Regions from separate parts of the Homo sapiens genome. Here regions 2, 3 and 4 are each linked to region 1. Evidence: promoter capture Hi-C in 16 types of primary human blood cells and fetal thymus (Javierre and others, 2016). All regions are on one chromosome and are shown on one strand. Each heading gives the region's core, a stretch centred on a gene start or on the middle of the fragment in contact. The rest is flanking DNA. Distances are from core to core; before and after follow the strand shown.

What was found. Contacts are between HindIII fragments. The CHiCAGO score rates a contact against its expected background, and 5 or more counts as called.
Region 2: a contact is called between a fragment that was not itself captured here and the fragment with the promoter of IL2 in region 1, in 1 of 17 cell types (endothelial precursors). The highest score is 6.0, in endothelial precursors.
Region 3: a fragment that was not itself captured here is called in contact with the fragment with the promoter of IL2 in region 1 in 1 of 17 cell types (endothelial precursors); the score reaches 6.6 in endothelial precursors.
Region 4: a fragment that was not itself captured here is called in contact with the fragment with the promoter of IL2 in region 1 in 1 of 17 cell types (endothelial precursors); the score reaches 5.9 in endothelial precursors.

Annotation. Positions count from the first base shown.
Region 1 is chr4:122,454,923-122,458,341 of GRCh38, forward strand. IL2 (interleukin 2) reads right to left here and starts at 1,803. Exons shown (of 4, transcript NM_000586.4): 1 at 1,372-1,803; 2 at 1,222-1,281. The coding sequence starts at 1,518. The HindIII fragment of the contact is 2,130 bases long and covers 449-2,578 here.
Region 2 is chr4:121,880,486-121,883,904 of GRCh38, forward strand. TRPC3 (transient receptor potential cation channel subfamily C member 3) reads right to left here. Exons shown (of 12, transcript NM_001130698.2): 11 at 1,869-1,944. Among named protein-coding and RNA genes, the nearest start is that of BBS7-DT, 12 kb to the left of the region's middle. The HindIII fragment of the contact is 810 bases long and covers 1,366-2,175 here.
Region 3 is chr4:121,918,652-121,922,070 of GRCh38, forward strand. All of the region lies in intron 3 of TRPC3 (transient receptor potential cation channel subfamily C member 3), which reads right to left. Among named protein-coding and RNA genes, the nearest start is that of TRPC3, 32 kb to the right of the region's middle. The HindIII fragment of the contact is 5,563 bases long and covers 1-3,419 here.
Region 4 is chr4:121,937,716-121,941,134 of GRCh38, forward strand. The region is part of intron 1 of TRPC3 (transient receptor potential cation channel subfamily C member 3); the gene reads right to left. Among named protein-coding and RNA genes, the nearest start is that of TRPC3, 13 kb to the right of the region's middle. The HindIII fragment of the contact is 2,322 bases long and covers 686-3,007 here.

The DNA of each region.
Region 1 (3,419 bases), core at 553-3,052:
CCCCTGATATGTCCATCTATTGCGCTTTCAATTCACCACTACAAATTCTACAAATTCGGGTTTAAGTTTTTGGCATGAACAATGTGGAGAAATTTTCTTCAGAAAACAGCATCTAGTATCTTTATGTTGCTGGAGTTGCATTATGTGGCTCTGATTAAACTAGAGTAACATCTGTAAGCTGTCTCCTTTACATCTTTCAGAAGGGTAGTTAGAAGCAGATTTCTCTTGAATTAATAGAATTTGAGTCAATGGGATTGCATCTGTGTCCCCTTAAATCCTATTATTTTCTGGGCTTGGATTCACCCTGGCACAAGCTCTTTCTGGCACCAGATTTTGTTCATTCTCTCTTAACTGGCACAGCTACTAGGTAGCTTTACACACCTAATGTAGCCTAGGAGCTTGGATGATTATGCTTATGCTCTATCTGAATCCAAAAACAACCTAATGAAGCTTTTAATCTTGGAAAATAAGTCATATAGCATTATAAATCTCAAGTTCTATTGGTAAAAAGATAAAGTCCAAAATTTTACTTTGTATTTCTCAGTGAAAATTTTATCTTTAATACTACTAATAATAGCTAATGCTTGTATGGTATTTACCTTATGCCAGACACGGTTCTGAGTGCTTTACATTTACTTACTAATTCTCACAAAGCCATATTAAGTATATACAGTTATTCATTTAAGTAGACATGAAACTGAATCACAAACAGAGTAGGTAATTTGCCAAAGATCATGAAAGCTAGGACATGGCAGAGCTGAGATTTCACTTCAGATATCTGGCCCCAGACTCTGTGCTATTAGTGTTATGCTGCCTCTCACTTAGAAACCTTTCCTAAAACAAGAAAAGATTTTTAAAAGTGGGCTCCTTGGAAATAGATTTTGGTATTTTACATACTAAAATGACATAATCAAATATTTTAGAGTTTTACATTTTTAAATGAAACCATAAATGAACATTTTTGTTTAGAATTGTCTTATCGATAAAGTGAGAATATTATTTTTATGTTTTCTTCCCACCCCCACCAACACACAAATATATATTAAAAATATAGGTAAAACTGTTTTAATAGAGGCTTCATTATCAAACTTGGGTTTTCAAAAAAACAAATTAAAGTTACTCTTTACCTCAGATGAGCTGCTATTAGTCCCATCTGTGCAAATTTTCATATTACTTTGAATTTTATTAAAACAGAAATTGAACATAAAATATTGTACTTACCTTCTTGGGCATGTAAAACTTAAATGTGAGCATCCTGGTGAGTTTGGGATTCTTGTAATTCTAAGAAAGTATAATGCATTGTTATTAAGAAATGATCTCCAGCTAGATTACTAAATGTAATAATTTTAGTAAGAAAGGAAATATACTTACATTAATTCCATTCAAAATCATCTGTAAATCCAGCAGTAAATGCTCCAGTTGTAGCTGTGTTTTCTTTGTAGAACTTGAAGTAGGTGCACTGTTTGTGACAAGTGCAAGACTTAGTGCAATGCAAGACAGGAGTTGCATCCTGTACATTGTGGCAGGAGTTGAGGTTACTGTGAGTAGTGATTAAAGAGAGTGATAGGGAACTCTTGAACAAGAGATGCAATTTATACTGTTAATTCTGGAAAAATATTATGGGGGTGTCAAAATGTTTTACATATTACACATATTTTCAAAGACTTTACCTGTCTGAAAAAACATTACCTTCATTTTTCCTCTTCTGATGACTCTTTGGAATTTCTTTAAACCCCCAAAGACTGACTGAATGGATGTAGGTGAAATCCCTCTTTGTTACATTAGCCCACACTTAGGTGATAGCTCTAATTCATGCAATTAACGCCTTCTGTATGAAACAGTTTTTCCTCCTTTCTTTAAGGGGGTGGGGATACAAAAGTAACTCAGAAAATTTTCTTTGTCATAAAACTACACTGAACATGTGAATAGCATATTGTGGTGGACAAGAGCAAGAGTAAACAGATGAAAAGAATAAATGTTTAGATTTGTTGATAAAACAGGAAGTGTATTGGTTTCCTGTTTCAGAATGGTTTTACCTTTTTATCCACACAATGAGCTAATTGCATACAATAAGATAGATTGCTTCTTACATGTCAGCTAGAGAAATACTAAGATTAGAATACTTAAAATGCTTATTGAGCTTGAGGTACTGTTTAACGCTATTTTAATTTAAAATGATTATATATCTGTTTAAGTCTCTTAATGTCTATTGTACATTTTTTAAAGGGTGCGATTGTTAAATACTCAGAAAAAGGTTTGCATTCAAGGATACTGATGCTAGTTTTATAATAGACTTTGTATGTGTTATGTGTAAACCAGTCCATGTTTCTCGTTTTTATGTCTTTACCTCTTTAATGGATTTTTATTTATCCTCTAAATCACCTGGGACACTATGAATGTAACAATAATCGTTATGAAATATGATCTTGTTTTTAGTCAGAAGACTAGGATATTTAGGATAGGTGTTCATTCATCCTCAGTACAGTGCACAAACTGGCTGAACAATTGTACGGATATATACTTCTAATTTAACCTGGGGACACTTGAGGAGATCCTGTCTCAGAGAGAGTCCTTGTAAAGCTTCCATTCTATGGCCTTATTTATTTCTTACCTGGACTTTTTTTTTTTTTTTAAAGATGGTATTGTCTGTGTTTTTGTTTGTTTTTTTAAGACAATATTGTCTGGTCTTTAAACAGACATCTAGCACCTATAATGCCTTCAGGTATATAGAAAGAGAGAAAAGAGAACAGTGTACAGGCAGGCACTTAGTCTAATATAAGTCTTACAGACTTGTGAAGTGATGGCTCCTATTTTGCAGATTAGAAAACTGAGGCTCAGAGAAGTTAAGTAATTTGCTCTAGGTCACTCAGCCCTTATTGCCAGTAAGGGGCAGAAGAAGGATTTGAAAAGAGAATGTTCTGACTCCAAAAATCCACTCTCTTACCATTTGTATTTTTTCAAAGAACCTGATTTGTAATAGGGAAGATATGTACATACACAAGTGTAGTCCTGGGTGATAGGTGATTGCTGCCCCAAGGGAGGTGGATATAAGGAATCTTGAATAAGGAACAATTAATTTAAACTGGATTTTGAGGAGGGTGCATAGGCAGGAATGATTAAAGCAGTCTAAGGAACAGTCAAATGTAATATTTTACAAAGAACAGAGAAAAATGGTTCAATAAGAGTTTTCTATGCGTTAGGTAATGTTCGGAGAATATAAAACAAATTTAAAAATAAAGATTATAGTCCCTCAAGTAGAAAAAAAAATGAAGAAAAGGTCAGATTAGGGCCAAATCTCATGAACTTTTTATACGAAAAAATGCAAAATGTCTCTATACATTTCAGATCAAAATCACATTAACGCTGTTATAAGGGGCAGGCTATTTGGTAGTCTGTGTGTTATTTATTTAATATAATAA
Region 2 (3,419 bases), core at 521-3,020, 570 kb before region 1:
GTTTAGATATGATACCACTGACAATATATTCCTGAAGAGAATAGGAGAGTTTGGGCTATAAAAATAAATTGCTCCCATAATTCAGTTTGGCAGTATTTTGAGCATACGTATATTGCAATTAAAAACTGGATTCTCTTCAAGGAGAGGCAGTATTTGGTTAAAAAAGAAAAGAAAAGAAACACTGGATTCTCTTGCAAGTGACCGTAATGTAGATAAACCACTGACCTTCAAAAGTGAATGTTGGAGCAAGAATTTACCTTGAATCTAAGAAATGATTCTTCAAACCATTGACTTAGGTTTTTATAATAAAATGGCATTTAAAACACACCTTTGATGATATTTCCTGGTATCTTTAATATGCTTTAAAGTATAATTTCAATATTCTTCTATTATATAAAAGTCAGAGCATTTTTATTTGAAAAGAATTCTAACTCAGGAATACACACAAAACATTTGAGGAGCCCTTTTGTGGCAAAAAAAAAAAAAAGTGCTTCCTTTGGCATATGGCAATATAAAAGGAATAAACTGATCTTATTTGAAATCATGAGGCAGACTTCAGTGGAAGGAGTGGATTCTCACACCATTCAGTACCGCAGGAGACCCCCTGCCCTACTTCACCTTCTACTATCCTTTCTTCCTTGTCCCCGACTCATGGGGAGACTACAACCTATGTGTTGTATTAAATATTTAATCTGCCAATTCAGGAAACACAAGTTACTCAAACTCTTCAGATTTTAGTTTCCTCATTAATTAAATGAGGAGATTATATGACACATTTTCTTAGTAAGAACTTTGTTCAAAACTCCAAATTCTCATTGATTTTCCCCTTTTGTGCAAGGGCTTGGGAAATGCTTCTTGTTTTTTATGCCGTTTTAGCCATACAGTTCTTCCCACTTTGTTCCTCCCTCTCCACCCCCCATGGAGATTACGGTACAACTCATCAGACTTCTGCTTTCTAAACTACAACCTCATTCCAATCCTTTCTCCTGAGACAGATTGATTAGGTCACCATGATTAGATTTTTGCTAGTTATCGATTATAAATTCACAGGTTTCTCTTCTACATACATACACTATTGGATTGATTTACATTTAAAATGCATTCCTTGTATTAATCAAGTAATGGCTTCAAAGCCTATGAACAATTTTATTAAGTTTAGTCCTTTCCTCTTTTATCAGTGTAGATAGATTTAGTGGCATCTCATTGGTGTTGGAAGGTACAGTTTCCATTTTTAGGGCAACTTATTTCTCCCTGGTTGATTTCTTTCCAACTCTGGGCCTGTGTTTAGCTCTACATCCTAGACTTTGGTAAAAAATTTTTATAGTCCAGAGAGATGCCCTGCCTCAAATATGCCTTAAAAAAATAAGCTTGCTTAAAGTAAGGAGGCAGGGGGGAAAGTGAAATTCAAAAGAGACGCACCAGACAAGAAAAACAGGTTAAAAATGTGTTTCTGAACAATAAAACAGAGGTTTTCCTGAAGACATGAATTCTGTTTGAGTCACTGTTCTTTTATCTGCTTAACTGGAAAAATGTTAACACTAATGTGAACTCATTGAAAATGTAACCAATACTTACTGACTACCTTATGTCAGAAGGATTAAAAAACTCCTAGAAAGATGTCAGTCTTTACATTCTAAGAATCAGTTAGGGCACTATGAGTAGAGATAAATTGCCTCTGATCAATATTGTAAATAACTGTTTATTTTAAAAGATGAAGTTTTAGAAACGTAACATAAGATCCTCCTCCCATCTTAGAGGCATCCAAACTATAACCTGGGATTGGATTTTTAAAATATGCCTCAACATTAAGTTTTCCAGGTTCATTAAGTTAGCTATAAAAGGATATTTTTTAAGTTGGAGATGCTTACCTTCATTAACTTCATCATTTTCTTTGTCTACTTGTGCTTTCAAAACATACCGCTTTATAAGTCTTTTCATTATCTGCTGTTGGGCAAAAGTAAATGATTAGATCTCCAATGATATACATAAGTGCCCCAATCCTATTTTCCAAAGAGGCTTACATACCTGTAAAGCAAACAACTCAGGGGAGAAAAAAATTTTATAACTATGTATAGAAAAATTACGCAGGTTTCAGAACTTAACTCTCTTAATGCCTTCTACTGAGACTTACTGCATAATCCACCAATACTTTTTTTTTGCCTCAGAAACGGAAGAAGCTTTTAAAAAGAAGTTAAGCTTGAAGATTTGAATTCATGGCTCCTCTTTCAACTAATAGTTTCTTTTTAAATTACATTGACACCACATTATCACCCATAGACACTACCTTATTTCCCAGTATTTAGAAAAATACATCAATGTATACTCTATATAGAGAATTTGGAAAATATACAGAAGAACAAAATAAACAAATGAAATCATTGGCAACCTCACCAGCCAAAGATAATCACTGTTTTCATTTTGGTGTATGCCCTTCCAATATCTTTTCTTTAAAATTTGTATATATACTAATTACTGTAAGTATTATATTTTATGTTTTCTAAATGCCATATATTTTGTTATATTGCATACGTTTCTCTAATAGCAATATATGTGACTATTTTCAGTCTAAATAAATGCTCTTCTAGGATAACTGTTTACCCATATGGAAAAAATTAAATTGGAGCCCTATTTCATACCATGAACACAAAAATTAATTCCATTTGCATCTTAAATGTGAAAGACAAAGCTTCTGAACCCTTAAAAGAACGTATTATATAAGAGAGTATATTTATAAATTTGGGGTAGACCTGTATTTTTAAAAAAACAAGATTAAAACTTCTGATTACAATAGAAAAGACTGATAAATTCAACTTCATTACAATTTAAAATTTCTGTTTAAAGAGATACTATAAAGAAAGTGAAAAGGCAAGCCATAAACTGGGAGAAAATATTGGTAATGCTTGTAATTAAAAATAATTTATATCCAAATATATAAAGAACTTTAATTCAATAAGAAAAACTCAAATAACCCGATTTTAAAATGGGCAAAAGACAAACAAATGTTTCACAGAAATGGAAACGTGAAGGGTCAACAAGCTTAAGAAACAATTTCAAACTCTGTTGCAGGGAAATACAAATTATGACTAAAAGGAGACACAATTTTACATCTAATAAAGAGAACGATTAATAAATCTGGTTATGCCAAGTGTTAGAAAGGATATGGATCAATGGGGACTTTTATATTTTACTGGCAAGACTGCAGACAACTTTGAAGACAATTTAGTACTATCTTTTTAGTTTTTAAATTGATTTCTATTAACAAAATTTTAGAGGTGGAGTCTCACTATATTGCACAGGCTTGCCTCAAACTCCTGGGCTCAACGCTGTCCTCCTGCCTCAGCCTCTCAAGCAGCTGGAGCTATAGACATGACCCACTGCATCCAGGTGGTATTATCTTTTAAAGTTGAACATTTACATAC
Region 3 (3,419 bases), core at 655-3,154, 540 kb before region 1:
AACAGGTCTATTTCCTATGCTTCTAATTCTACTCTTTTTTTTGAGATAATTATACACGACTTCATGGATTCTGTCGATTCCATTTAATCCACACAAACAGATTTTCCTCCAATGATGTAAAATCCTAATGCAAGTACACAAGGAGCATTTCAAAAAAGAAAGTAAAGCCAGTACAATAATAGCAAGTGAAGGCAAAAAAGCTAATCCCTTTAGGAGATGAGTTTTGGTCTTTTCAATGACTTCGAAATAGGGCAGTGACCTTTATACCTGAAAAGTGTTTTACCTCCTGAAAAATCTCCTTATGTCACTACACCAGTTATGCCCAACTGGATAACATTTGTATGCTGTTTCCTAACTTCAGTGGACCAGCAAATTGAAGTCATAACAAAAATAATACCCTTATTTTGAGTTTTCTGATTCAAAGAGAGAATGCTTGACACAAGAAAATCTCAATCTTTCAATTGGACAATCAGCATTGAGAACAACTGAAATGTTTTTTCTTGCCAAATAACTAATAGATTATAAACTGAACCACTGATCAGGGCAGGCTAGGGAAAACAATCAAATTTTAAACTTAAAAATTAATTCATGTTACACTGTTTTTCATCAAATCAGCCTTCACAAGAACTGTCTTCATGGGAATACTGTTGTGTAAAATCATGGTAGGAACTCTGGATTTGTTTTTAATGATACTGTTAGAGCCACAATTCATACAATTTAAAGGAACATATTCTTGTAAATAAAAACTAGGCAATTCAACTTCTTTTAAAAACTCAATGACTTGTGAAATATAAACCTAAAACTTATATTGCACAGGTTTTCTGGATTTTCAAACTTGCTGAGTGCAAAATGCTCTGTTATCTCTTGGTGCCTGGGGAAGACCAGGACAAGAGGCCACACAGTGCAGGACACAGGACTGTGCCGGCCAGCACACCCGTTCCAACGTCTCAGTGGTGTATTTACCACTCTCTCATTGCATTTCTTTAATTCTGGGCTTCCCCTGCACACTTTTTGCACAGAAAGTGGATACACAATGGATGCTTTTATCCTGTTTATACTGCTGCATGTTTCTTTTTAGGATGGCTTTTCTACATTTAAATCTAATCCTACTATGGAGGAAATATTAATAGGAGAGCAGAAACGAAGAACTCAGGAAATGTTCTCCTTCTCTTTCTGAGAGCCCAGTTTTCCAGATTCAGTGGTCTACCAAGCTCTAGTATCTTTTGTCAAAAACTTTCTCAAAATAGACATAGCTCACGGTGAAGTAGGTAGAACTTTGGTTATTTCTATGGTGGGGAGTGGATTAATGTTCAGCTGCACATCACAGAGCAGGATAGAGGTAGAGTCAGAATTAGAACTCAAGACTTTTGGTGGGGGGCAAATAGTCCATTATTCTAATTAAACAAAATTAGTGTTTTTGCCTAAAATTTAATTTTCTTGTACCCATTTTCAGAAAATCAAATTTCATCTTCCAGTGTATTCCATTCTCTTTTCAAAGAATAATATAGGTATTTCTATAAATAGTAATAGTGTTCACTATCCTTCCAGTTTTAAAATTTACCTTACAGACCCCTTAAAAATGATTTTAGGCTGGACGCAGTGGCTCACACCTATAATCCTAGCACTCTGAGAGGCTGAGGTGGGCGGATCACTTGAGGTCAGGAGTTCAAGACCAGCCTGGCCAACATGGTAAAACCCCGTCTCTACTAAAAAAACAAAAAATTAGCCAGGCATGGATGATGGGTGCCTGTAATCCCAGCTACTCGGGAGGCTGAGGCAGGAAAATTGCTTGAACCTGGGAGGTGGAGGTTGCAGTGAGCCAAGATCTCGCCACTGCACTCAAGCCTGGGAGACAGAGTGAGACTCCATTTCAAAAAAAAGAAAAAAAAACAGATTTTAGGATGAATAATCTTCAAAATCCATTCCCTGTTAGTAAAGATGCAGGCAGATGGTTGCTCTTTTACTATCAGCATTGAGAATTGTAAATTTTTATTCTTTGTTAGTTTAAGAGAAGGAAAATGGTATTTGTACATTAGTATACGTTTATCACTAAAAGGTCTGAAAATTTTAAATATGCATGTTAGCCATTTGAATTTTCTCTTCTGTGACATGCCTATTCAAATCTTTTGCTGATTTTTCTACAGGGCCCTGGATGTTTTCCTTACAAATTTGTTTGAGTTCTTGGGATATTAAGAAGATCAATCTTTTGTGAGATACAATCGAAAAAACATTTTTCCTAGTATGCCCTTCACTTTTTTGTTTATAATCTTTCTGATGTCATACAGAGGTTTTAAATTATATGTGGCCAGATTATTTGCATTTTTGCTTGGAGATTTCTTCGCTTTTATATGAGAAAGTCCTTTCCAACATAAACATTAAATTCACGGTCATGTATCTCCTATTCTGGTGTTTTATATATTCATTTTCTGGATTAACTGTCCTTGAGTTCTGTAAGGCCTGTGTTGAACTCATGCCTTGATTTCTAGGAAAGACCAGATCTCTGGGAATCCTGAGCCCAGTTAGAAGACAATAGACTCAGAACCAGAGCTGGGAGTAGGTCTTGGGCAGAGGGTAGAAAAAAGACTTCCTGGCCGGGCGCGGTGGCTCACGCCTGTAATCCCAGCACTTTGGGAGGCCGAGGCGGGCGGATCACGAGGTCAGGAGATCGAGACCATCCCGGCTAAAACGGTGAAACCCCGTCTCTACTAAAAATACAAAAAATTAGCCGGGCGTAGTGGCGGGCGCCTGTAGTCCCAGCTACTTGGGAGGCTGAGGCAGGAGAATGGCGTGAACCCGGGAGGCGGAGCTTGCAGTGAGCCGAGATCGCGCCACTGCACTCCAGCCTGGGCGACAGAGCGAGACTCCGTCTCAAAAAAAAAAAAAAAAAAAAAAAGACTTCCTGAGTCTCATATGCGGCCAATATTGGCTTACAATTAGATAAGAATGGTTTCCTTGGTGGAATTATGGGTTGATTTGAATAAATATGAGTTTATTATGTTATCAGGGGGTGGGGGAGTCCATAACATATAAAGTTACTTTGAAATCCCAATGGCTTGCATATGGCTGTGGACTACCTCTGTGCCAGAGTGGGCAGGGTTTGTGCATCATTATAACCCAAGACGTGGTTTTGCTTGGAGACTAGAAATGAGATGGTGGGAAAAGGAAGCAGCAGGAGTGGGTGGGGTGATATTTTTCCTCCTGTGAGAATGAAGATGGGTGAGTGTTGACTGAAAACGAAGGAAGCCTTTGTTTTTTGGGTTTTTTTTTGTTTTTTTTTTTTTTTTCGAGTCGGAGTCTCGCTCTGTCGCCCAGGCTGCAGTGCAGTGGCGTGATCTTGGCTCACTACAAGCTCCGCCTTCCGGGTTCATGACATTCTCCTGCCTCAGCCTCCCTAGTAGCTGCAACTACAGGTGCCTGCC
Region 4 (3,419 bases), core at 597-3,096, 520 kb before region 1:
GATAAGTTTTTGTCCTTTAATCTAAAAATAAAAACTGTATAACCCTCACTCCCCTGCCCCTCTCTTAGGGGGACTGCTCAATTGTTATTACTATCTTATTTCACATTTCTGGCACAGTCTTTCTCCTTTTTTAAATTATTTCTCACACAGATTTAAAACCAAATATCCTATATTCCATGTGTTTTAAACCTGTTTTAAGTTATTTGAGACAGAGTCTTACTCTGTCACCCAGGCTGGAGTGTAGTGGGAGGATCTCGGCTCGCTGCAACTTCTGCCTCCCGGGCTCAAGTGTCTGAATTTATTTAAAAAAAAAAAAACAACCCAGAGTATTAAGAAATACCCTCTCATATATGCCTCTACTGTACACGTTCATAGATAGTACAGTCATGTTTTATTTATCATTATCCACAGAGTTCTACCCAGTGCCCCATAGAAAATAAATATCAATAAATATCTGTTTAGTTGAGTTTCTAAATCTCTTCCTAGATCCCATCCTCTCACCTGACCTCAGGTCCCACATATACTGTGGTCTATCACCTGGTTACTCTAAAATGCCCCAACTCACCTTCTTCCTTAAAGCAGCTCCCACTCCTAACATTTGTATCTCAGGCTGATTATTCAGGTTTAGAAATTTCAAGGTCATCTATGACTCACTGTTTTGATCATGTCAGTCACAAAGTTCTAAAGCTTCTGCTTTGGAATGTTTCTTGTACTGAATGCTTCCTTCCAATTCTCATTGCCAGCACCAGCCTCCAGATCTTTATCAAGTCATAGCTGGGTTGTTGTAACAGCTTCCCAGCAGAGATGGCATGAAGGAAGGCAACTAAACTTTTCTGAGCACCTCATATGTATGTAATGTTTTCAATGCACTATCATATTTAACTCTCATAACAATACCACGAAGCAGGTATAATTTTCTCTGTTTCATAGATAACAAAACTGAGCTCAAATGAAATTGCCAAAGATAACACAAATGGTAAAATAACGAAGAACTGGGATTCAACCTGGAATCTGTCTGACTCTTATTTTCCATTGCCTCAGGCTGTACCTGATTCTCCTCTTTACACATGACAACTATGCCCAGCATCTTGCTGTTCATAAACTCTGTTTTCACCATATCACACTTCTCTTTAAAAAAAAAAACCAAAACAGGAAACCATCAGTAACACCCCTACTGCTCTTTTCATCAGTCGAGACTCGTCTGTATGACTTTCAGGGATGGTGACAGCCCACCCCACCCTGCCTAGCCAACCTTCCTTCCCTTGTTCCCCAGATTCATTCTTCACTATCCTGTAAACATATTATTCTGCCATTTCTGTACTGTCAAGGGGTACTCCCGTACTATTAAGGACATTTGTTGAAAATATATTAAGGTGCTCTTCTTTTTTGCCTTTTCAAATACAGGATCTTTGCCCTGGTTGACTCAGGACATCTCTGCCTGGAGGGTGGGTGGTGCAGTATAGAGTTGGGTGGGTGTGTTCAAGGGGAGTTCGAGAAGATACATTTTACAGGAGTGAAAAGAAAAGGATCATGGAGAAGTTCAGATTCTTACAAGCAAAAAATTATGGGATTTTTGTATTTTTATGAATGATTTTGAGGATTTTGCAAGCAGAATTTGAGAAAAGGGAAACTGTCTAATGAAAAGATTTTCTCAATTCCTTTATTCCTCTAATTCATCCTGAAGGACCCTGATCATAAAGTGCTCTCATTATGCAGACAAGATAGCTCTCCCACTTCTGACAGCAAAGCCGTGATGCTTACTGTCCTGGGAGGACAAATAAATAACAGAAGGGAAGTAAAAGTCAAGATGTGGATTCAATAAGGTGAGGAAGTACCTTAAGTACTGGTTAAGTAATGGAATGATATGGGAAAAGCAAAGAGCTTTCTCAAGCCACCCTCAGCTCCTCTGTGGTGTGGACACTGCTATGAGAGCCAGGTAGCCTGCACTAAGGCTTGGGACAGATTGCTGGTGCTGTAAGCTGGATGGAAGATGTTGCAGGTGCTGGGATTTGTAGCAGTGGGAGCTGAGCTGAAACCAAGTACTTGAGGGAGCATATCTGGGTTTCTAACAAAAGAAAGTCAGCCAAGATCCAGTTACTTCTGCTGACAAGCAGCACTCAAGTAGACATAGAACAGTGCCCAGAGACCAGAAGAGTTAGAGGACACTAACTCTTTCCCCCTCCAGGGACACATAAGCTCCCCTCCCCCAAGGGCCAGATGTGACAGAGAAGAGCAGGGGAAAGGGTAGTTCCCGAGAGCCTGAGCAAGTTTATCCAAATAAACATTTACTTTATAGTATCGAACTAAGATAAAAGAGGTCAGCCTCCCGGCCTCTTTCTGCAGTGTGCTGAATGCTGGTAGACAGACAGGCCACTGAGACTCTGAGCCCTTTAGAAGATTGGGGGACAAGAATCAGAAAGCAAAAGCCCCTTCCACACCGGCTCAAGACGTGGGGAGACACTGTCCTAACTGACCAAATCCCTGCCAAATGTAGAGCAAGCCTTCCCTCCTTGTCAATTCACGTAACTGCTTAATTGCTTAATTGACTTAATTGCCTAATTTATTGATTGCACTATTCACTTGTTGAGTGTCTGTGTAGTAAGCAAAAACAAAACAAAATTTAAAACACTAATGTGAACCACAGATTGGGCATTTAATGTTTTCTCTCCTACTCAGTAAGTGGGAGGCTCAGGAGACAGACTTTTGTTGCAGGCAGATTACAGGAGCTACACGTTGCTGCCCATCCAAGTTGTGAGTGATTTCTTGACCCTTTTACACCTACCTCCAGGATGTTCCTCTTATGTTTCCCTCTCTGAACACACTGTTATTTCTGCTCTTTGCCAATTCAAATCCTTCTTACCATCAGTGGTCCAGTTTACATTACACTTCTGTATACAGAGGGTCACGTTTCACAGGGCAATGCCGATATGACCCACAAGATTCTGTTCAGTATGAAATGTTGGGTCTTTTGATCCTTTCTGAAGCCATTCCTGACCACTTCAGCCCAAGCTTTTGTAATATAGGTAGTCTACTCATAAATATAGACACTTAATTTTACCTCATCTCCTTGATTTTTGTCTCCTTGATTATTGTCTCCTGTGACAATCATGTCCTCAGTTCAATTGAGGATAAATGTTTTATGTGCCTTATCTTATGTTTTATTCTTGACATATTATCTCTACTGTACCTAATACAATGTAGTATATGTTCAAAAATACTTGGCAATTGATACTAATTCTGCAGATTTAAAGACTTCATCAGAATGCTACCTCCCTTACGGTCACTGAGGAGTACAGAACTAGAAGATTAGAGCTCAGAGGTCTTCCTGGCTACTTTATCATGATGCTGCTAGGGAATAAGAAAATGAACAATGGGTTATAAATCCAAGTATCACTATTAAAATGCATGCTGAGCTTATG